6 separate regions of the Homo sapiens genome follow, and regions 1, 3, 4, 5 and 6 are each linked to region 2. The links are contacts of gene promoters, found by promoter capture Hi-C in blood cells and fetal thymus (Javierre and others, 2016). All regions are on one chromosome and are shown on one strand. The core of a region is centred on a gene start or on the middle of the fragment in contact, and the rest is flanking DNA. Distances in the headings are between cores, read along the strand shown. Region 1 overlaps KCNN3 (potassium calcium-activated channel subfamily N member 3). Region 2 holds the start of TDRD10 (tudor domain containing 10). Region 3 overlaps KCNN3 (potassium calcium-activated channel subfamily N member 3). Region 4 overlaps LOC105371449 (a long non-coding RNA gene). Region 5 has its middle 21 kb from the start of KCNN3. Region 6 holds the start of SHC1 (SHC adaptor protein 1).

The links. The method cuts DNA at HindIII sites, captures the fragments that hold promoters and counts their contacts. A CHiCAGO score of 5 or more calls a contact.
Region 1: a fragment that was not itself captured here is called in contact with the fragment with the promoter of TDRD10 in region 2 in 1 of 17 cell types (erythroblasts); the score reaches 6.4 in erythroblasts.
Region 3: a fragment that was not itself captured here is called in contact with the fragment with the promoter of TDRD10 in region 2 in 1 of 17 cell types (neutrophils); the score reaches 5.5 in neutrophils.
Region 4: a contact is called between a fragment that was not itself captured here and the fragment with the promoter of TDRD10 in region 2, in 4 of 17 cell types (activated CD4 T cells, M1 macrophages, non-activated CD4 T cells and 1 more). The highest score is 7.9, in activated CD4 T cells.
Region 5: a contact is called between a fragment that was not itself captured here and the fragment with the promoter of TDRD10 in region 2, in 12 of 17 cell types (activated CD4 T cells, M2 macrophages, total CD8 T cells and 9 more). The highest score is 10.0, in activated CD4 T cells.
Region 6: the fragment with the promoter of SHC1 here is called in contact with the fragment with the promoter of TDRD10 in region 2 in 4 of 17 cell types (activated CD4 T cells, erythroblasts, fetal thymus and 1 more); the score reaches 9.4 in activated CD4 T cells.

The regions. Positions count from the first base shown.
Region 1 is chr1:154,834,553-154,837,490 of GRCh38, reverse strand. The region is part of intron 1 of KCNN3 (potassium calcium-activated channel subfamily N member 3); the gene reads left to right. Among named protein-coding and RNA genes, the nearest start is that of KCNN3, 34 kb to the left of the region's middle. The HindIII fragment of the contact is 3,819 bases long and covers 1-2,938 here.
Region 2 is chr1:154,500,509-154,503,746 of GRCh38, reverse strand. TDRD10 (tudor domain containing 10) reads right to left here and starts at 1,528. Exons shown (of 13, transcript NM_182499.4): 1 at 718-1,528. It overlaps SHE (Src homology 2 domain containing E), which reads left to right and starts at 1,335. Exons shown (of 6, transcript NM_001010846.3): 1 at 1,335-2,311. The coding sequence starts at 1,721. The HindIII fragment of the contact is 2,286 bases long and covers 452-2,737 here.
Region 3 is chr1:154,770,792-154,773,728 of GRCh38, reverse strand. It overlaps KCNN3 (potassium calcium-activated channel subfamily N member 3), which reads left to right. Exons shown (of 8, transcript NM_002249.6): 3 at 1,336-1,754. Among named protein-coding and RNA genes, the nearest start is that of KCNN3, 98 kb to the left of the region's middle. The HindIII fragment of the contact is 5,576 bases long and covers 1-2,937 here.
Region 4 is chr1:154,912,180-154,914,986 of GRCh38, reverse strand. LOC105371449 (a long non-coding RNA gene) reads left to right here. Exons shown (of 2, transcript XR_001738239.2): 2 at 2,190-2,807. Among named protein-coding and RNA genes, the nearest start is that of PMVK, 23 kb to the left of the region's middle. The HindIII fragment of the contact is 510 bases long and covers 1,297-1,806 here.
Region 5 is chr1:154,890,367-154,893,188 of GRCh38, reverse strand. No RefSeq gene overlaps it. Among named protein-coding and RNA genes, the nearest start is that of KCNN3, 21 kb to the right of the region's middle. The HindIII fragment of the contact is 428 bases long and covers 1,126-1,553 here.
Region 6 is chr1:154,969,017-154,972,068 of GRCh38, reverse strand. It overlaps SHC1 (SHC adaptor protein 1), which reads left to right and starts at 1,322. Exons shown (of 12, transcript NM_001130040.2): 1 at 1,322-2,037; 2 at 2,621-2,691. The coding sequence starts at 1,543. RefSeq lists enhancers at 1,444-1,994, 1,995-2,545. The HindIII fragment of the contact is 11,130 bases long and covers 1-3,052 here.

The DNA.
Region 1 (2,938 bases), core at 434-2,933, 330 kb before region 2:
GGTTGGCTGTTTTCCTAGGTCTTTGATCACAGCTGTTACATGTAGATAGGCTGGGCGCGGTGGCTCATGCCTGTAATCCCAGCACATTGGGAGGCCGAGGCGGGTGGATTACGAGCTCAGGAGATCGAGACCATCCTGGCCAACATGGTCAAACTCTGTTTCTACTAAAATGCAAAAAAAAGAAAAACACAAAAAATGAAAAACAAACAAACAAACAAAAAACTAGCCGGGCATGGTGGTGGCGTGCGCCTGTAATCCCAGCTATTCAGGAGGCTGAGGCAGGGGAATTGCTTGAATCTGGGAGGCAGAGATTGCAGTGAGCTGAGATTGTGCCACTGCACTCCAGCCCAGCAACAGAGCAAGACTCTGTCTCAAAAAAAAAAAAAGGCTTAAACAATGGGTTCTAAGCAAATAAGTATCTGTTTAGTCAGTGGAACGAGGAAACAAAAGTTGATGGAGTTCTCCCCACAATTGGAAGTGTTGTTCCCCACCTAGATGATGGGGCCTGCAGGGAAGTGATTTTGCACGATTCTCCTCTTCTTGGGAACAGGCCATAGGGTAGCATCCCTTCATTCATTCATCAAGTATTTATTGAGTGCCTACTGTGTGCCAAGTCCTCTGTGAGGTGATGGAGCAGAGAGACAGAAAGGACCCCGACTGTGCCATGAAGCAGCCCTGAGCCTGGAGGGGCCACTCAGAGGGAGCCCAGGGGCGGCGGCTCTCGGGCTCCAGCCGAGTTTCCTTCAGACCTAGCCCCTTTAGCTGACAATCTTAAAGCCTGGTCCCGGAAAACAGGAATAGTGCGAGAGGGATGAAATGTGGGTGAGGAGAGTGAGACAAGGGTGGAGGTAAGAAAGAGGGATGGAAGAAAAGACGCAGCAAACTTTCCCGTGAGAGAAACGCTCCAGACAGCACCCCAGTTCCCAGCTGAGACTCCCAGCCACAGTCAGCAAGAACCCACAGGAGGGGAGGCCCACGTCCCTGCTCAGCTCTGCCCTGGCAAGTGGGGTCGGAGATGGGGCATTCCCTGCTTGGGGTCTCAGTCTCTCCATCTGTAAAACGAGGCTTTGGACTAGGGGAGCTCAGAGATCTGTTTAGAACTAATATTCTGTAACCGGTGCAGGGCAAAATAGACGGGGGGCAGGAGCCCAAATTAAGGCCAGTCGAGTATCAGGTGGGGTGTTCCTCTGGCTCCTCCTATTACAACAGCAAGAGGGACCCAGGGGTACTGTGGGAGTCCTACCATCTCCTCACTTGTACGAGGTACCTTCTGGCTGCTCTTCCGGCTGCTCAACACTCAAAGAAGGAAGGTGCTGGGTGTCCTTGTTTGCATATTTTTCTGGCACGGACACATTCTTCTTGGAGTTTCTTGACATTAGGGCCACTTGAAATGCTCAAGGTAAGGGCTGCTCTGCCTGGCAGACATGCGTCAGGTGCCTTTGGCTCCTCCCTGGCAAGTCTGCCTCCAGACGCCCTCAGATCCTGTCCCCATGCCTGGCCATGGGGCTATCTGACCACTGATGCCAGAGGGTCACACTCATCAGTCTATACAGAAGACTTGGAAATGTTTTGGCAACCCTGTGTTAGAAGAGTGGGGTTTCCTAACTGTATGGCTTTGGGTAATTGCTTAAATCCTCCCAGCCTTAGTTTTTCCATCTGTGGGTTAGGAGTGGTCCTCTCTACCTCCCAGCATCAAATAGGAAACTGTGCAAGAAAATGCTTTGTAAACAGGAAAGCCCTAAACTGACATCCAGGACACAGTGACTCAGTAGCAAATATATTCTGATATTCAGCCTTTTCCATGGTTACAGCCTCCTCTGTGCCAAGAAATTCAAGTCACCAAGGGTTAAAGCAAGCAAGGCACATGGCCGTGATTGTCCATAATTGATGAAATAAACCTTAAAGGAGTGACATATAATTAATTGCAATTAATCCAGGCACTGTGACACCACCTTGCTAAAAATACTGTCTACTAACAATTGCTTTGATCCAGCAGAATGATGTCTGCCCATGAGCCTGGCAAAGTGTCTGCTAATGGAGTGCACATAGTGGGTGTGGAAGCTGGCAGGTGTGGGGGCAGAGGGCGGGAAGGGGGCCCCAATTCTCTCAGACCCTTTGGCAGCAAATACTACATATATAGGGTGATCATATGATTCATTGTCTAAACTGGGACACTTTTGAGATTATTATATTAATGATTACCATTCATAGTAATAATTATGCCAGATAACAGGCATACACTGGACTCTCCTGGGTAAACCCGAATGTATCGCCACCCTCTGCATAGGCTGTTTTAAGCCCGTGGGAACCCTCGACTGGGAGAGTATTTTCACGTTCATTATCTGCTCTTCCTCACAACAACCCTGGAAGGAAGAAAGGATTTTTTAGTCTCATTGAATAGATGTTAAAGATGGTGATGGTGTCAAACGGTCCAGCTCTAGTCTTTGGCCTGGCTTCCTCGGTGGCTGACCCCATGCAGGTAGAGGACAGCTGGTCAGGACCGGGAGTTCTGGGGATGTGGAAACAAGTGCAGCTCAGGGGGAAAGAAGTAGCAAATCTGGCTTCAGTGGAGCAGGAACAAGCGACCTCCTCCGTGAAGAGCTCAGGGTGTAGGTCTCAGCCGGGACTGTGCTGCGGTCCTTACCAATCCTGGGCTTGGAATCAGAAGCTGTGTGTTTCAAGTCTGGCTCCCACAGTTCAGCTGTGTGATCTTGGCAAATTGTATAATCATTCCGTGCCTCAGTTTCTCATTTGTCAAGTGGGGACAGTTCCTTCCTGTGAGGATTAAGTGAGAGTTTATATGAAGATGGATGGGTAGACTCAGAGCCTGTCATATAACAGGTACTCAGTAAGTCCTTGTAGAGTTTGAATCTGTGGAGAGTTCCTAGAGGCAACACCTGTAGGGGAACCATGGAGATCCTTCTGCCTTGAAATGGCT
Region 2 (3,238 bases), core at 279-2,778:
ATCATTCTGTTTCCATTGTATATGAGGACTCAGTGTTGGTCAGCCCCTTCAGCACATTTAGTTTGCTAAACCAAAAGATTTCCGTTCAGTAAACTAAGTTTAAATTTCTTTTTTTAAACCAGAAAGGTGTTTTTTTGTTTGTTTGTTTTTTGTCTTTTTGAGACGGAGTCTCGCTCTGTCGCCCAGGCTGGAGTGCAGTGACTTGATCTCAGCTCACTGCAACCTGCGCCTCCCGGGTTCAAGCGATTCTCCTGCCTCAGCCTCCTGAGTAGCTGCAACCATAGGCGCGCACCACCACGCCCGGCTAATTTTTGTATTTTTAGTAGAGACCAGGTTTCACCATGTTGGCCAGGCTGGTCTCGAACTCTTGATCTCAGGTGATCTGCCCGCCTCGGCCTCCCAAAGTGCTGGGATTACAGTCGTGAGCCACCGCGCCCGGCCTCAGAAAGCTTTTAAAGGGCTTCGAAGGGAGGGAGGAATGGCAGAGGCGTCTTTTCCCTTAAAGTGGCCACAGTTCTGCACACGGCACTCCCCGCCCGCACAAATCCAGACTAGGAGGGCCGCTCCCAACCGGCGCGAGCGAGCGACGGCCCCGCGGGAACAGCGACCCCTTTCCCCCATCAGTCGGGACGAGGGCGTTTCCCATGGCTGCCTGCCGACGCCCCTCCCTCCCAACCCTCGCCTGGCATCCCGGGACCTGGGGCCGACAAGCCATACCTCGTCTCGCGGGCCACGCGCGTGCACCTGCGATCGCGACGCCCAGCCTTCGCGCCTTCTCCCTCCGCGCTCCGCCCCCTCTGAGCCCGGGGGCACGGGGCGGGGCTTGCCGGCAGCCAATCCCCGGCGGCCACGGCGGGAAGAGCCTCGCGCTGCCCAGGACCGTGTGCCACCGAAGAGTAACGGAACTAGCGCAGGAGCTGGCGACCGTTGTCCCTGCGCCCGGACCTCGGGCCGCAACCTCTGCCCTACCGCCAAAAATAACGTCTGCAGAAAGAGTGGAGTAGAGCGGAGTGGGTGGGCGAGGGGCTTCCTTCCCGGGGGTGAGCGGCGCACGTGACACTCCTGGGCGCGTGTGAAGGCAGCGCCCGGCCGAGACCGGCTCGGTGCAGACGCGGGCTGTCGGCGGCAGAAGGGGGCTCTCTGCTCAGTGGGGCGCGGCCGATCCGCACGTGCGGCCGCCGCCCCTTTCTCCAGAGCTCGCAGCCCGACCCGCCTCTGCCATGGCGCTCACCCCGCCGCCCCCAGCTCTGGGCAGGAGGTGGCGGGGCTGGGAGGCGCCAGCCGCGGAGGGGAGGGGCGCGCGGAGTTGATGGGCCGCTCGCCGTCCGTCCACCGTCTGTCGCTGCGCCGGGGATACTCCCGCCGCCTCCGCTCGGTCCTCTCTGGTCCCTGGGAGCGTGGGCTGGGCCGCAGGGGGCTTCCGTGGGCCTGGCCTCTCCCACCGCAGGAGGAAAGAGCAGGGGGAAGCCCCCGGCGCCCGCCGCCTCCGAGAGCCACGGTGTCCTCGGGCCGGGCAGGCGTTGAAGACGAGCCCGGGCGGGGCCCCCCGCGCGTCGTGCCTGTCGCCTGCCGTGTCCGGAGCAGAGGCTAGCGCCCGCCCGCTCGGCGCCCCGAGCCGTGAGAACCCCACCCTGCCGGGCGTGGGCGACGGCCGGCCGGGGGCGCACGGAGCAGCCGTCGCGGGGCCTCGCCGCGGCCTCCAGCGCCCCAGTCACGGGGAATGCAGTGGTCCCCGACCCCTGGCGCCTCTGCGTGTCTGGGCTGGGCTTCCTCGCTCGCCTGCTCCACGGCCCCGACGCTCCTGGGCCGAGCCGGCCGGGGCCCCCTCATGGCGGCCAAGTGGTTCAAGGAGTTCCCCCTGAACCTGAAGACCGTGTCGGAGCGGGCCAAGCCCGGGGGCGGCGGCGGCAAATTGCGCAAGAACTCGGAGGCGGGCGGCGCTGGGCCGGGTCCTGGCAAGGGCCGCAAGAACTCGGCGGCCGAGCTGGGGAGCGGCAGGGCCGGCGTCGGCCCCAAGGACAGCCGGCTGTCCCGCGACAGCCTGCAGGGTCTGATTCAGGCCGCCGCGGGCAAGGGCCGCAAAAACTCCCGGGCCACGGAGGAGGAGCCCCACCGGGGTGCAACCAAGAGCTCGGGCTGCAGCACCTACATCAACAGGCTCATCAAGGTGGACACTCAGGAGAAGAACGGGAAGAGCAACTACCCCAGCAGCAGTAGCTCCAGCTCCAGCTCCTCTTCCTCCGCGTCCTCTTCCCCTTCCTCCCTGGGGCCCGAGCTGGACAAGGGCAAGATTATTAAGCAGCAAGAGACGGTAAGAATACAGCCTCCCTTGGACCACCTCTCAGTCGAAGGGGAGCCCTGGGCGCCTGCTAAGCCCTAGGCTTCTTTAGACCTAAGAGGCAGTGAGGATAGGTTTCCTAAGGTCCTTTCTCCCTCCACCATTTGGGAATTCCTGACCATTTAAAATTCTTAGACTGTTTTTTAATTCTTGAAAAACTCTTATTTTAGAGGTGGGGAGTTTTGCAGAAATGTACTAGCCATTGAATTTTGTTAGCAGTTTAGAAGAGTCGTTGAATGAGATATTCCTGTTTGGTTACATTTGACCCCTTTATAGATGTGGTTCATTTTAATTTTGATATTCAGGGGAATTGCAAAGCTAGGCTTGTGTATGACTTTTATGCTTCTTGAGCATAAGGAATGGTAACCTCTCAAGTGTGTAGATATGCATTTCAAAGCTTCAGGAAATGGTTTAACCAACAGTCTTCTCCACTGATTTGGAAGTTCCATCATTTTCTGCGGTTCCACCGAGTAAAGGGCTCCTCGGAGGTTCAGCAAATCTCCAAGACTGCTGCCCTTTCATTCATTCCATGGGCATTTGTTGCGCAGCAGCCATATGAGGAAAGGAGCACAGGGCATTAAGGGCTGTGGAGGATACAGAATATGACAAGGAAATGCTCTCAAGGAAATTACAGATGAGAAGAGAGGGTGTTTCCTGCGACGGACACACTGGAGGTTTTCTGGGTGCTGTCCAATGTGGAAAAGTTAAGAAAAGGAGTGTGAACATAGGAAGGGACTCCCTCCATTCTTGCTGAGATGAGTTGGTCCGATCTGGTTGTTTTTATCTTCTCTCCGATGTGAAAGGGGGAGAGAGAAGAGCTCAAATCGAGATTTCAGACTCCGGTCCAGGCAATCACTTCCTAACATGCATGGGAGCTTTAATTTTCTCTTGCCCAGGCTT
Region 3 (2,937 bases), core at 128-2,627, 270 kb before region 2:
ATTTGGCACCTGTGTGCTGGAAGGGACCTTGGGAAGTGGCTCAACATAGAACACTTGTGGTCAGCAAAAAGGAGGGGGTGGTTCCCACACACCAAGCAATTCTCCAATGGACACTGGCTGAGTGTCCTGCAATATAACTCAAGCCTGATTGTCCGCCTGGAGTTAGTGTTGGCTCCCACAGGTTGAGGGCTCAGTCCCACCACATTTACCTGACTTCCGATGCTAGTCACCAGCCCCAGGTTGTTTTATCTGAGCCTCTGACCAAGTGGCTATAAATCAGGGATTCCCAGGACGCCCTTCTCAGGTTTTCATTAATTTTCTAGAGCAGCTCACAGAACTCAGGGAAACACATTTACTGGTTTATTATAAAGGACCTTACAAAGGATTCAGATGAGCAGCCATATGGGAGCGAAGCAAAGGGCAGGGCGCATGGGAAGGGGTGGAGCTTCCATGCCCTCTCTGGGCACGCAACACTCCACGTGTCCAGGGACCTCCATGTGTGCAGCTATCTGGAAGCTCATCGAAACACAAAGAGGGGAACGACAGACACTGAGGGTGGAGAGTGGGAGGGAGAGGATCAGAAAAAATAACTATTGGGTACTGTACCCAATAGTACCTGGGTGACGAAATCATCTGCACAACAAATCTCTGTAACACGAGTTTACCTATATAGCAAACTTGCACATGTACCCCTGAACCTAAAATAAAAGTTAAAAAAACAAAACAAAACACTGTCTTTTTGGGATTTTGTGGAGGTTTCATTACACCGACATAATTGATGACATCATTGGCCATTGGTGATCAACTCAACCTTCGGGCCCCTCTTCCTTCTCAGGAGGTGGTGGGGTGGGGCTGAAAGTTCCAACCCTCTCATCACCAGATTGGTTCCCCTGGCAACCAGCGCCATCCTGAGGCCACCCTGGATCCCCACCCCGACCGACCCCAGCCACTAGTCATCTCATTAGCATACAAATGACACTTATCACTTTGGAAATTCCGAGCGTTTTGGGAACTGTGCCTAAACCAGGATAAAGACCAAGTACATTATTTCTTATTATAAATCACTATATCTCAGGCAGCGATTTGCAGAGGAGGAAAGTGAGGCCAAGAGAGTCAAAGTGTCTTAGCCAGGGCTTCCCAGGTAGACTGAATCCAGCTCTCCCTACTCCACATACAGGGCTCTTGCCACATAGCAAGGCCCCTAAAGAGCATGCTGAGGTGGTCAGGCTGACCTGAGCCCAGCAGCCTGCCCCAGCCTGCCCCACCTGTCCTGCCTGGACCCTGCTGTGGGCTTCCTGGTCCTGGCCACACTAATGGACTTTCTGCTCCCACCAGCTCTTCGTGATCGACAATGGCGCGGATGACTGGCGGATAGCCATGACCTACGAGCGCATCCTGTACATCAGCCTGGAGATGCTGGTGTGCGCCATCCACCCCATTCCTGGCGAGTACAAGTTCTTCTGGACGGCACGCCTGGCCTTCTCCTACACACCCTCCCGGGCGGAGGCCGATGTGGACATCATCCTGTCTATCCCCATGTTCCTGCGCCTGTACCTGATCGCCCGAGTCATGCTGCTGCACAGCAAGCTCTTCACCGATGCCTCGTCCCGCAGCATCGGGGCCCTCAACAAGATCAACTTCAACACCCGCTTTGTCATGAAGACGCTCATGACCATCTGCCCTGGCACTGTGCTGCTCGTGTTCAGCATCTCTCTGTGGATCATTGCTGCCTGGACCGTCCGTGTCTGTGAAAGGTATTCCACATGGGGCTTTCTGAGTACAGAGCCTGTGCTGGGACAGGGAAGGGAGGAGGAGTAGGGGTGCCAGGAAGTATGTGGTCTGATGGAGGAGACAGGCATGTACCCAGACACCTGAAAGGAGACAATGGGAAAGAGGGGAGTGCTGAGTTGGGGTTCAGTATGAGCTAGAATTGCAGCATTGGAACCAAAGTAAGGTGGGAAAAAGGCACAGAATTTTCCTGATTTTCTGTTCCTTCTTTGCAAACCAATATATCAAAGCATTCTGGTTACATCAGTAACTCACATATAACACATTGCAACTTACTCCTCTTGGGTATTAATAATGCTTATTAGCATTTTAAAGGCTCTGAGAAGTCCTGAAGTAATGAAACCATTTATTTTTGTTTGGTTCAGCCTTTCTTAATTGTATTTGCCTGCAAATCCTTTTTATTATAAAGCACTATTGGTACCTTGCTACTCAAAGTTTGGTTCACAGACCAGCAGCACTGGCATCACTGGGAACTTGTTAGAGTTCCCAGAATCTCAGGCCTTAGCCCAGAATGAATGAATCAGAATTTGCATTTAACAAGGTCACCTGGTGATTCATATGCACCTTAGTTTGAGAAGCACTGTACTGATGGAACATACTTTGGGAAACATTGTTTTAGGAGGCTGGTGGTTGGGAGTCATTCAGAGAAGCTACTCATGGGAAAGAAGGGAGATGTGGCCTGACAGAGATCCAGGGCTGTAGAACAAAATGCCAACTCCTTGGAACAGCCATCAACAAGGCTCAAGGGCAGGACTGAAGCCACCTCCTTCCACCACCCTCGAGCTGCCTTTAATGACTCTTCTCCTTGCAAGGGGTCCTGGATTTTCATTTTATTTATTTATTTATTTATTTATTTATTTATTTATTTATTTATTTATTTATCTGAGATGGAGTCTCGCTCTCTCGCCCAGGCTGGAGTGCAGTGGCATAGTCTCTGCTCACTGCAACCTCTGCCTCCTGTGTTCAAGCAATTCTCCTGCCTCAGCCTCCCATGTAGCTGAGATTACAGGCATGCGCCACCATACCAGGCTAATTTTTGTGTTTTTAGTAGAGATGGGGTTTCACCATGTTGGCCAGGCTGGTCTTGAACTCCTGGCTTCAAGTGATCCTCCTACCTTGGCCTCCCAAAATTCTGGGATTACAGGCGTG
Region 4 (2,807 bases), core at 302-2,801, 410 kb before region 2:
TCTCTTGCCTCTATATTTGGACAATGACTTGGTTGGCATAAGTTTCATGACCTGGTTCCACTGTCTGGAGAGTATGAGGTCACCTTGACTTTTGTTCCTTTGAAGGTAACCTTCTTTTTTTGCCTGGATGCTTTTGGATATTTTCTTTCTTCTTTTTGTCTTCATTTTCGAAATTCAAATCCTGGCATTCTCCAAGGCAGAGATATGGACGTGTCTTAACAGGAAAAAGTTGGCATCTTATTGTTCCTGGTAAAGCATTATTGAATAATGAGATGGGAACTGAAATGGTCTTGTGCATCCAACTGTCTGCTGTAACCTAAAGTAGTCACCTTGGGCATTTGGGCTGAGACACTTCAGGGCTGTTGCCTTTATCAAATGGCTTTGGGAGCTCCTCTTTGCTTTGAGGACCTGCCCTCAACTCTGCCAAATTCTCATCCCCAAAAGTGCATTTGGGTTTTGGAAACGACCAAAGGGAATTTGGTACTAAACTCTGGTGAAAGAGACATCTTATGGCCAGGAAAAATAGTCCTGTAATGTAATAATTCTAAAACTTACCAAAGTTAATTCTCAGAGAGGAATTTTTAAAAGTTGCCTTAGTAATCAAGCCTCTGTATCTTCGCATGTGCCATTCATGCTGCCTAAAGTACCCTTCCTAGTTGCTTGGGCTTGGACCCCTACAACTTGAGCAGAGCAAGGGGCACTCCACTTCCATTTCCAGAATGCTCCACAGTGTACACTTTCTCACTCCTCCACCATGCTGTGAGCAAGTAAGGAAAGGTTTTTTTCCTTTCGAGTCTTTGGTACATTGCACATAGTAGAGGTATATTAGTCGGTTTTGCATTGCTATAAAGGAGTACCTGAGACTGAGTAATTTATGAAGTAAAGAGTTCTACAGGCTATACAAGCATGGCACCAGCATCTGTTCTGCTTCTGGTGAGGGCTCAGGAAGCCTCCGCTCATGGCTGAAGGCAAAGGGGGAGCAGGCGTGTCACATGGTGAGAGAGGGAACAAGAGAGACAGCAGGAGGTGCCAGGCTCCTTGAAACAACCAGCTGTCCTGTGAAGTAACAGAGAGAGAACTCACTCATTACCACTGGGATGGCACCAAGCCATTCATGAGGGTTCTGGCCCCATGACCCAAACACCTCCCATCAGGCTGTACCTCCAACATTGGGGATCACATTTCAACATGAGATTTGGAGGGGATAAACATCCAAACCATATCAGTAGGTCTCAATACATGTTTGTGACAATGAAGAAAGTTTATGTGTTAGAAAACAATATGACCTCCTAAGCTTATTGTCATGAAGCAGTTAGCAGTCATTTGGATGTATTAAGTTATGGCGAATGTGTTTGAAGCAAGAACAAATTGCCTCCCGTTGCATTACTCTTACTCATTATAGACAGTCACATGCTGGCAAATGTTTAACAATCAGCTCCCTGGAAGGGGAAAAACAGCCCTGATTTGTAGTGTTTGACCATTTCTGTAGTGTAAATATTCCCACTGTGGCTGATTTCAATCTACCAGTGGGATGTCAGCTGGCTAGCAAAATCCCTGAACATGCAAAATGTTGGCTCTTGCAAGCCAGTAGAAGGTGGCTGAAGCTGGTTCCAATGCACCATTGTACACATTCTACACCTCTTTTGTTTTTCCATCATCACCCAGTTCATTTGCGTGCTCCTTGTACAGCACATGTCTATGACTATATTTTATCCCTTGCATCAATCTGATACTATTTTTATCTTCATTTTACAGGTAGTAAAATAAGGCCCAGAGACAAAGGGACTTGTCCAAGGTGGCAAAGCTTTCCTGTCTATTCCTGGGTTCAGTTTCTCACTGTAGCTCCCTGCCTGGAGCCCGACACTGCAAGGGACTAGAGAGATGTCTTCTTTGCCCAGTTTTCTTTTCTCTGATGTTGAGGGAAGGACCCAAGCACCCTGTGCTTGCCACCAGCTCTCATGCCCAGGACATTCCTGCTGGCAGCTGAGCTGTGATGAATGCTGGCATTTGTCTTGTTCACTTGCTACCTGATAAACAGGTGACAGGGAGTTTAACAACTTTCATTAGACGGGGATCAGCTCTCACTCTCATGGCCTAATTCAGGATCTGGACAGTGTCATGTTGTCTGACAGCCAAGTGAAGTGATGGGTCCCCCTTTACAGTTTAGGATTTTAATTATTTTCTTCCAGGTGAGTCCCAGGAACATCCAGCCAAAGGCAAGTTCTTTGGGAGCCCAAGCTCATGGCAGTGACAGCTCCCCCAGGAGACGAGAGGTGAAACTGATGCCTGCTTCCTGCTATGTTATTTTGTCTTTAACACTTGCCAGTTTCTGGGCTTGTTGAAGGCCTATGTTAGGGACTGTGTGAGACTTTCTGAGAGATCACCACCTAGATATGTGATGTCACACAAAGTGAGTATTGTAATGGACCTCAGTGATCTAGCTCGAAACCTCTTGCTTACAGACGAGGAAACTGAGGCTCAGAGAGGGGAAGTGGTTTGCTCAAGGTCAAGCGGCAATGACTGGCAATGCCAAAAGTTGGCCCCAAGGCTTCTGACTCCCCACTCCGTGCCCTTCCCTCACCCTAAATGTCTCAGAGAGCATGAACCTGTGCCCTTTATCGGAGGAGGGCAGAGACGGCTCAGCCTGAGCCCATGGGAGTTCAGCCCAGTTCCCTGCTTCCTGGGTTTGTCCAGCCTACTCTGAAGAGGCCAGGCCACCTGCCTATTCCACCTGGCATGTCCTGCTTAGGTGAATCAAGCTGTACCAGGATGAGGAAGCCACAGAGTCACTTCCCAGAAGGGAATAA
Region 5 (2,822 bases), core at 90-2,589, 390 kb before region 2:
TCTTAGGGGGAAATCACTTAGTATGCTGTTCACCATCAAGTATGCTGTTAGTTGTAGATTTTTTAAGTAGACGCTTTTTATCAGGTTGAGGGTGATGCTGGCCTCATATAATGATTTGGGAACATTTTCTCCTCTTCAATTTTCTGGAAGGGTTTGTATAAAACTATTATTATTTCTTCATTAAATGCTTGGTAGAATTGACCAGTGAAACAATTTGAGGCTGGGGCTTTCTTTATGAGAAATTTTTGAGCTACAAATTTAATTTTTTTAACATATATAGGACTAGTCATGTTATTTATTTCCTCTTGTGTGAACCTTGGTAGTTTGTGTCTTTCAAGGAATTTGTTCATTTCATATAAGTTGTCAAATTTATTGGCATAGAGTTGTTTATAATATTTTCTTATAATCCTTTTAATATTTAAGAATTGGTAGGGATATTACCTCTCTCATTCCTGATTATTGATTAATTTTTGACTTCTTTCTTTTTTCCTGATAAGCCTGGTTAGAGATTTATTGATGTTATTGATCTTTTCAAAGTGCAGCTTTTGGCTTACAGATTTTTTCTTCTGTTTTTCTGTTTTATATCTCATTGATTTCCACTATGATCTTTATTATTTCTTTTCTTTAGTTTACTTAAGATTTAATTGCTCTCTTCCTAATTTCTTACGGTACCAGCTGAAGTCATTTACTTGAGAAGTTTCTTCTTTTCTAATATAGGTATTTGGTGCTATAAGTTCCTCCTAAGTACTGCTTTTGTGGCTTCTCTCAAATATGTTATGTTTTATTTTTCATTCAACTTAGAATACTTCCTGTTTTCCCCTTTGATTTCTTCTCTGAACCATGGGTTATTTGGAAGTGTGTTATTGTGTTCCTAAATGTTTGAGGATTTTGTAAAGCTCTTTTGGTTATTGGTTTCTAATTTAATTCCATTATGTTCAAAGAACATACTTTGTATGGCCTGAAACTTTAAAAATTCTTTGAGACTTGTTTTATGGCCCTGAATATGGCCATTTTGGTAAACATGTTCCATGTGCACATGTAAATAACGTGTATTCTATTGTTGTTAGGTGGAGGGTTTTATAAGCGTCAGTTAGGTCAACTTGGCTGATTGTGTCGCTTAAAGCTTCTATGGCCTTGTTTTTTTGTTTGTCCCCTCTATTCTTTTTTCCTCTCCCCCTCTTTTTCTGCATACTTTTGAATTAATTGAATATTTTAAATAATTCCATTTAATTTATCCTTTTCTTATCCACATAGTTGCCAATGTTGATGATTTTCCTTCCTTTGTGTAGATTTATATATCTGTTATCCTTTTCTTTCTGCTTCAAGGATCTTCTTTAACATTTGTTGTATCTCAGGTGATAAATTATTTTAGCTTTTGCATGGCTGAAAAAGTCTTATCTTACCTTCAGTCTCAAAATATATTTTCAAAGATATAATATACATCTAAGATATATTCAAAAGATATAATTCAAAGTTGGCAGTGTTTTTTTCTTTTAGTATTTAGAGATATTCTTCCATTATTTTCCGGTATGCATTATTTATGACAGGAAGCTTTTTGTCATGCTTATCTTTGTTTCTCTTCATGTAATGTCCCTAGTTGCTTTTAAAATTTTTCTCTTTATCATAGGCTTTGAGCCATCTGATTGTTCTGTGCCTTAGTACAGTTTTATGTTTCTTGTGCTTAGGGTTTATTGAGGTTCTTGGTTCTGTGAGTTTATAGCTTCATAAAATTTTGAATAATTTTGACCATTATTTCTTCAAGTACTTTTTCTGTTCCCCTCTCCCACCCAGCTTCCTTTATTCCCTGGGATTCCAATTACACATATGTTAGGTTATTTGAAGCTCACTGATGCTCTGAGAAAAGTATATTGGATGGGTTTAACAGCAGATAGACATTGTGGAAGAACATACTGGTAAACTTGAAAACATATAAATAGAAATACCCAACATGAAACAGAGAGAAAAAAGACTAAAAAAATGAACCCAGCTGACATTTTCACTGCAACTCCATGAGAGACTATGAGTCAGAATCACCCAGCTATGCTGCACCCTAATTCCTGACCCAAAAAAGCTTTGAGGCAATACATGTTTGTTAATCCCAGCACTTTGGGGGGCCAAGGTGGGCAAATTGCTTGAGCCTAGGAGTTCAAGACCAGCCTGGGCAACATGGTGAAACACCATCTCTACAACAAATACAAACATTAGCCAGGCATGGTGATGCGCACCTGTAGTCCCAGCTATTGGGGGTGGTGGGGGGCTGAGATTGGAGGATTGCTTGAGCCCTGGAGGTCAAGGCTGCAGTGAGCCATGGTGGCACCACTGTACTCTGGCCTGGGTGGCAGAGCGAGAACCTGTCTCTAAATAAATAAATAAATAAATAAATAAATGTTTGTGGTGTAAGCTGCTAAGTTTTGGTGTAGTTTGTTGTGGAGCCATAGATAACTAATCCATCCTCTTTGAATTTTCCTCTAACTTCTCCATGCGTAAGTCTTTCCTCTTTAGCAACTGAGTTATAAGAAGAGAATCATGAATACCCTATTAACTGTACTTTCTTTTAAAACTTTTCATGATTATTTTTTGTTTTTATACTTTTTCTTTTTTAGAGATAGGGTCTCACCATGTTGTCCAGGCTGGTCTTGAACTCCTGGGCTCAGGGAATCTTCCCCTACCTTGGCCTCCCAAAGTGCTGGGATTATAGTCATGAGACACTGCGCCCGGACTGTTTTATCGTATGGCTTCCATTCTTGTAGTCTAGGTTGATTATGATGATTTCGGCAGTACACAATAGAAAACCAATTCAAGTCGGCTTCAACATATGGAGT
Region 6 (3,052 bases), core at 73-2,572, 470 kb before region 2:
ACCATGTTGACCAGGCTGGTCTCGAACTCCTGACTTCAGGTGATCCACCCGCCTCAGCCTCCCAAAGTGCTGGTATCACAGGTGTGAGCCACCGCGCCCGGTAGGAATACGTATCTTTGTTTTTTTTTTTTTGGTCACTTTCCAGCTTTGCCTGTGGCATTCTCCGGAAGAGCAGTGGCAGGAAGCCGTGGGTGGCAGGAATGGGTTTGGGACTGTTCCCTGTGTCCAGCTTCAACCCATCTTCTCCTGACACCCCTTTCTCCTGTACTTATTTTTCTCCTGTCCTTATTGACGCAGATGTGTCTTCTGATCTCTCTGTCCCTTCCTGGCCTGTAGTTTCTACTTCTCTTGGAGAACTGTTTCTTCCACCTCCTCCAGCCAGGCTCCTTCCCTGGTGTGAAGGATGCTGTGCTCTTTGGTGGGGCTTAGGGCCCTGTAAGAGGAGGGATGTGAATTGGGGTGGTTTGGAGTGGGAGTGGGGACCTGATTGCCTCATTCTCACCCTTGACAGTGTGCTGTGTTAACAAGCCCTGTGGAAAGGGGAGACAGGACAGTGCTTGGCTATGAGCCATCGGTCTTGGTGTGGTAGATGGCATACGTAGAGAACAAGCCGTGACCAGCATGTCCTCTTGTTCCCTTCTTGCCTGGTAGCTTCCTGATGTATCATCCAGGTTGAACTTTATTCCCCTTTTTTCACCAGCTTTGCTCTTCCTCTTGGCCCTGCTCTGCATCCATTGGGACCACTTACTTCCCATCCCCACTTCGCTAGCTCCAGTCCACAGCTGCTGTAGCAGAGGATGCTAATGGCCCAGGCTTACTGTATGGGGTAGCGGTTGGGGGTGGCCTGGGCTGGGGCCAGCCAGCTTTCGGGCATAGAGAGGGTGGGGGAATTCGAGTGTCCAACCAGGACAGGAAGGGAAATGCTGAGCTCTGAGATCTCCTCCCTTTTCCACCCCCAGCTGCCTCTGTTTCCTCCCTCATTCCCCTGTACTCCTGCCTGGCTTCCTGCCCCCTTTGGCCTGCGTGTGTCCGGTTTTGAGTGACCCAGACCTCCTATCTCCTTCCTTTCCGTCCCACTCTTCCATCCTTCCCTCCCACCCCCACTTTACTTCTCCCCAGATTACTAGTTGTTTGTATAGGGCAGGGGAGAGGGGCTTGGATAGCCCTACCCCCTGCTCCAGTTCGAGGTTGGGGCGGGGTGGGGGCTCAGCCCCTCTGAGCCTGTGAGTCAGCACTGTCCTCACGATTGGTCTCTCCCCTTAGCTCCCCGCCCCTGGGGAGGAGCCAGAAGCGCTGGGTCCAGCCTGTTCTCTTCTCAGCCAGAGAAGAGGCTCCACGTTGGGCGGGGATGGGGCCTGAAACTGTCTGGGTCTGAGCTGGGGAGCGGAAGCCACTTGTCCCTCTCCCTCCCCAGGACTTCTGTGACTCCTGGGCCACAGAGGTCCAACCAGGCTAAGGGCCTGGGGATACCCCCTGCCTGGCCCCCTTGCCCAAACTGGCAGGGGGGCCAGGCTGGGCAGCAGCCCCTCTTTCACCTCAACTATGGATCTCCTGCCCCCCAAGCCCAAGTACAATCCACTCCGGAATGAGTCTCTGTCATCGCTGGAGGAAGGGGCTTCTGGGTCCACCCCCCCGGAGGAGCTGCCTTCCCCATCAGCTTCATCCCTGGGGCCCATCCTGCCTCCTCTGCCTGGGGACGATAGTCCCACTACCCTGTGCTCCTTCTTCCCCCGGATGAGCAACCTGAGGCTGGCCAACCCGGCTGGGGGGCGCCCAGGGTCTAAGGGGGAGCCAGGAAGGGCAGCTGATGATGGGGAGGGGATCGTAGGGGCAGCCATGCCAGACTCAGGCCCCCTACCCCTCCTCCAGGACATGAACAAGCTGAGTGGAGGCGGCGGGCGCAGGACTCGGGTGGAAGGGGGCCAGCTTGGGGGCGAGGAGTGGACCCGCCACGGGAGCTTTGTCAATAAGCCCACGCGGGGCTGGCTGCATCCCAACGACAAAGTCATGGGACCCGGGGTTTCCTACTTGGTTCGGGTGAGTGAACATCCTCCTCTCCATTCCCCCGCAGACCCCCTCCAGTTCTAATGCTCACTCCAGCTTGGCCGGAATCTCTTTTTTCCTGCTGTTCCCCAACAACCCCGTTTCAGTGTCCTATTTCCTAAACCTTTCTCATCCCTTCCCCGATTCTGTAGCCCCTTCCCTTCCAGCTTTGCCTGGGCCCCCTTCCTTCTTTTCACTCCCCCACCCCCACCCTGGCATGCTTAGCACAATGCCCAGCATGGCAGAAGCTCTTAATAAGTGTTGGAATGAATGACTTCTTGATCTTTCCTCCATTCTCCTCCCGCTTTCTGGAGTTGTCACTCCATCCCAGCCAATGCCTGTCGGTCCCCTCCAAACTCTCTCCCCAGTGTGTGAGGTCCTTCTAGCCTGCCTTTTCTTTTTCTCCTCATTCCCTGTTGTCTTTCACCTTGGTTGTGGGATGTAGCCACGGGAAGTGGGCAGAACTTCTTCCTCTTTACTTCCCTTAGGGACCATATGGGTAAAGTCCTAGGGCCCTTTGTGAAGGGGCTGGGGTGGGGGAGCCGCTGACCTGCTGTCCTCTTCTCCCTCCCCTTAGTACATGGGTTGTGTGGAGGTCCTCCAGTCAATGCGTGCCCTGGACTTCAACACCCGGACTCAGGTCACCAGGTTAGTGGGGAGGGAGTGGATTGTGGGAGTCCTGGGATTAGTGAGGCCATGGGAAACAGAGGAGGGGAGTGGGTCACTTGGGTGCTGCTGCTGGGGGCTGATCTTTGCGTAGTAAAGGGGATTGAGAGAAAGCTGAGGTAGTGATTCCGCCTCTTACTGAAAGGAGGCCCCTTTGGCCCGGATCCTCCTTACCTATCCAGCCTTGGGAGTTGTGGGGAAGGTGGCAGAAGCAGCTGGCAGGTGGAGCTGGAGTAGAAAAGGGGGGTAGATGGAAGGTTGCTGCTGCCTTTGGGAAGGGAATGGGACATTTGGTAGCTGGAAGGGGGTGGGGCTATACCCATTGAGGCCCTAACCCAATCAG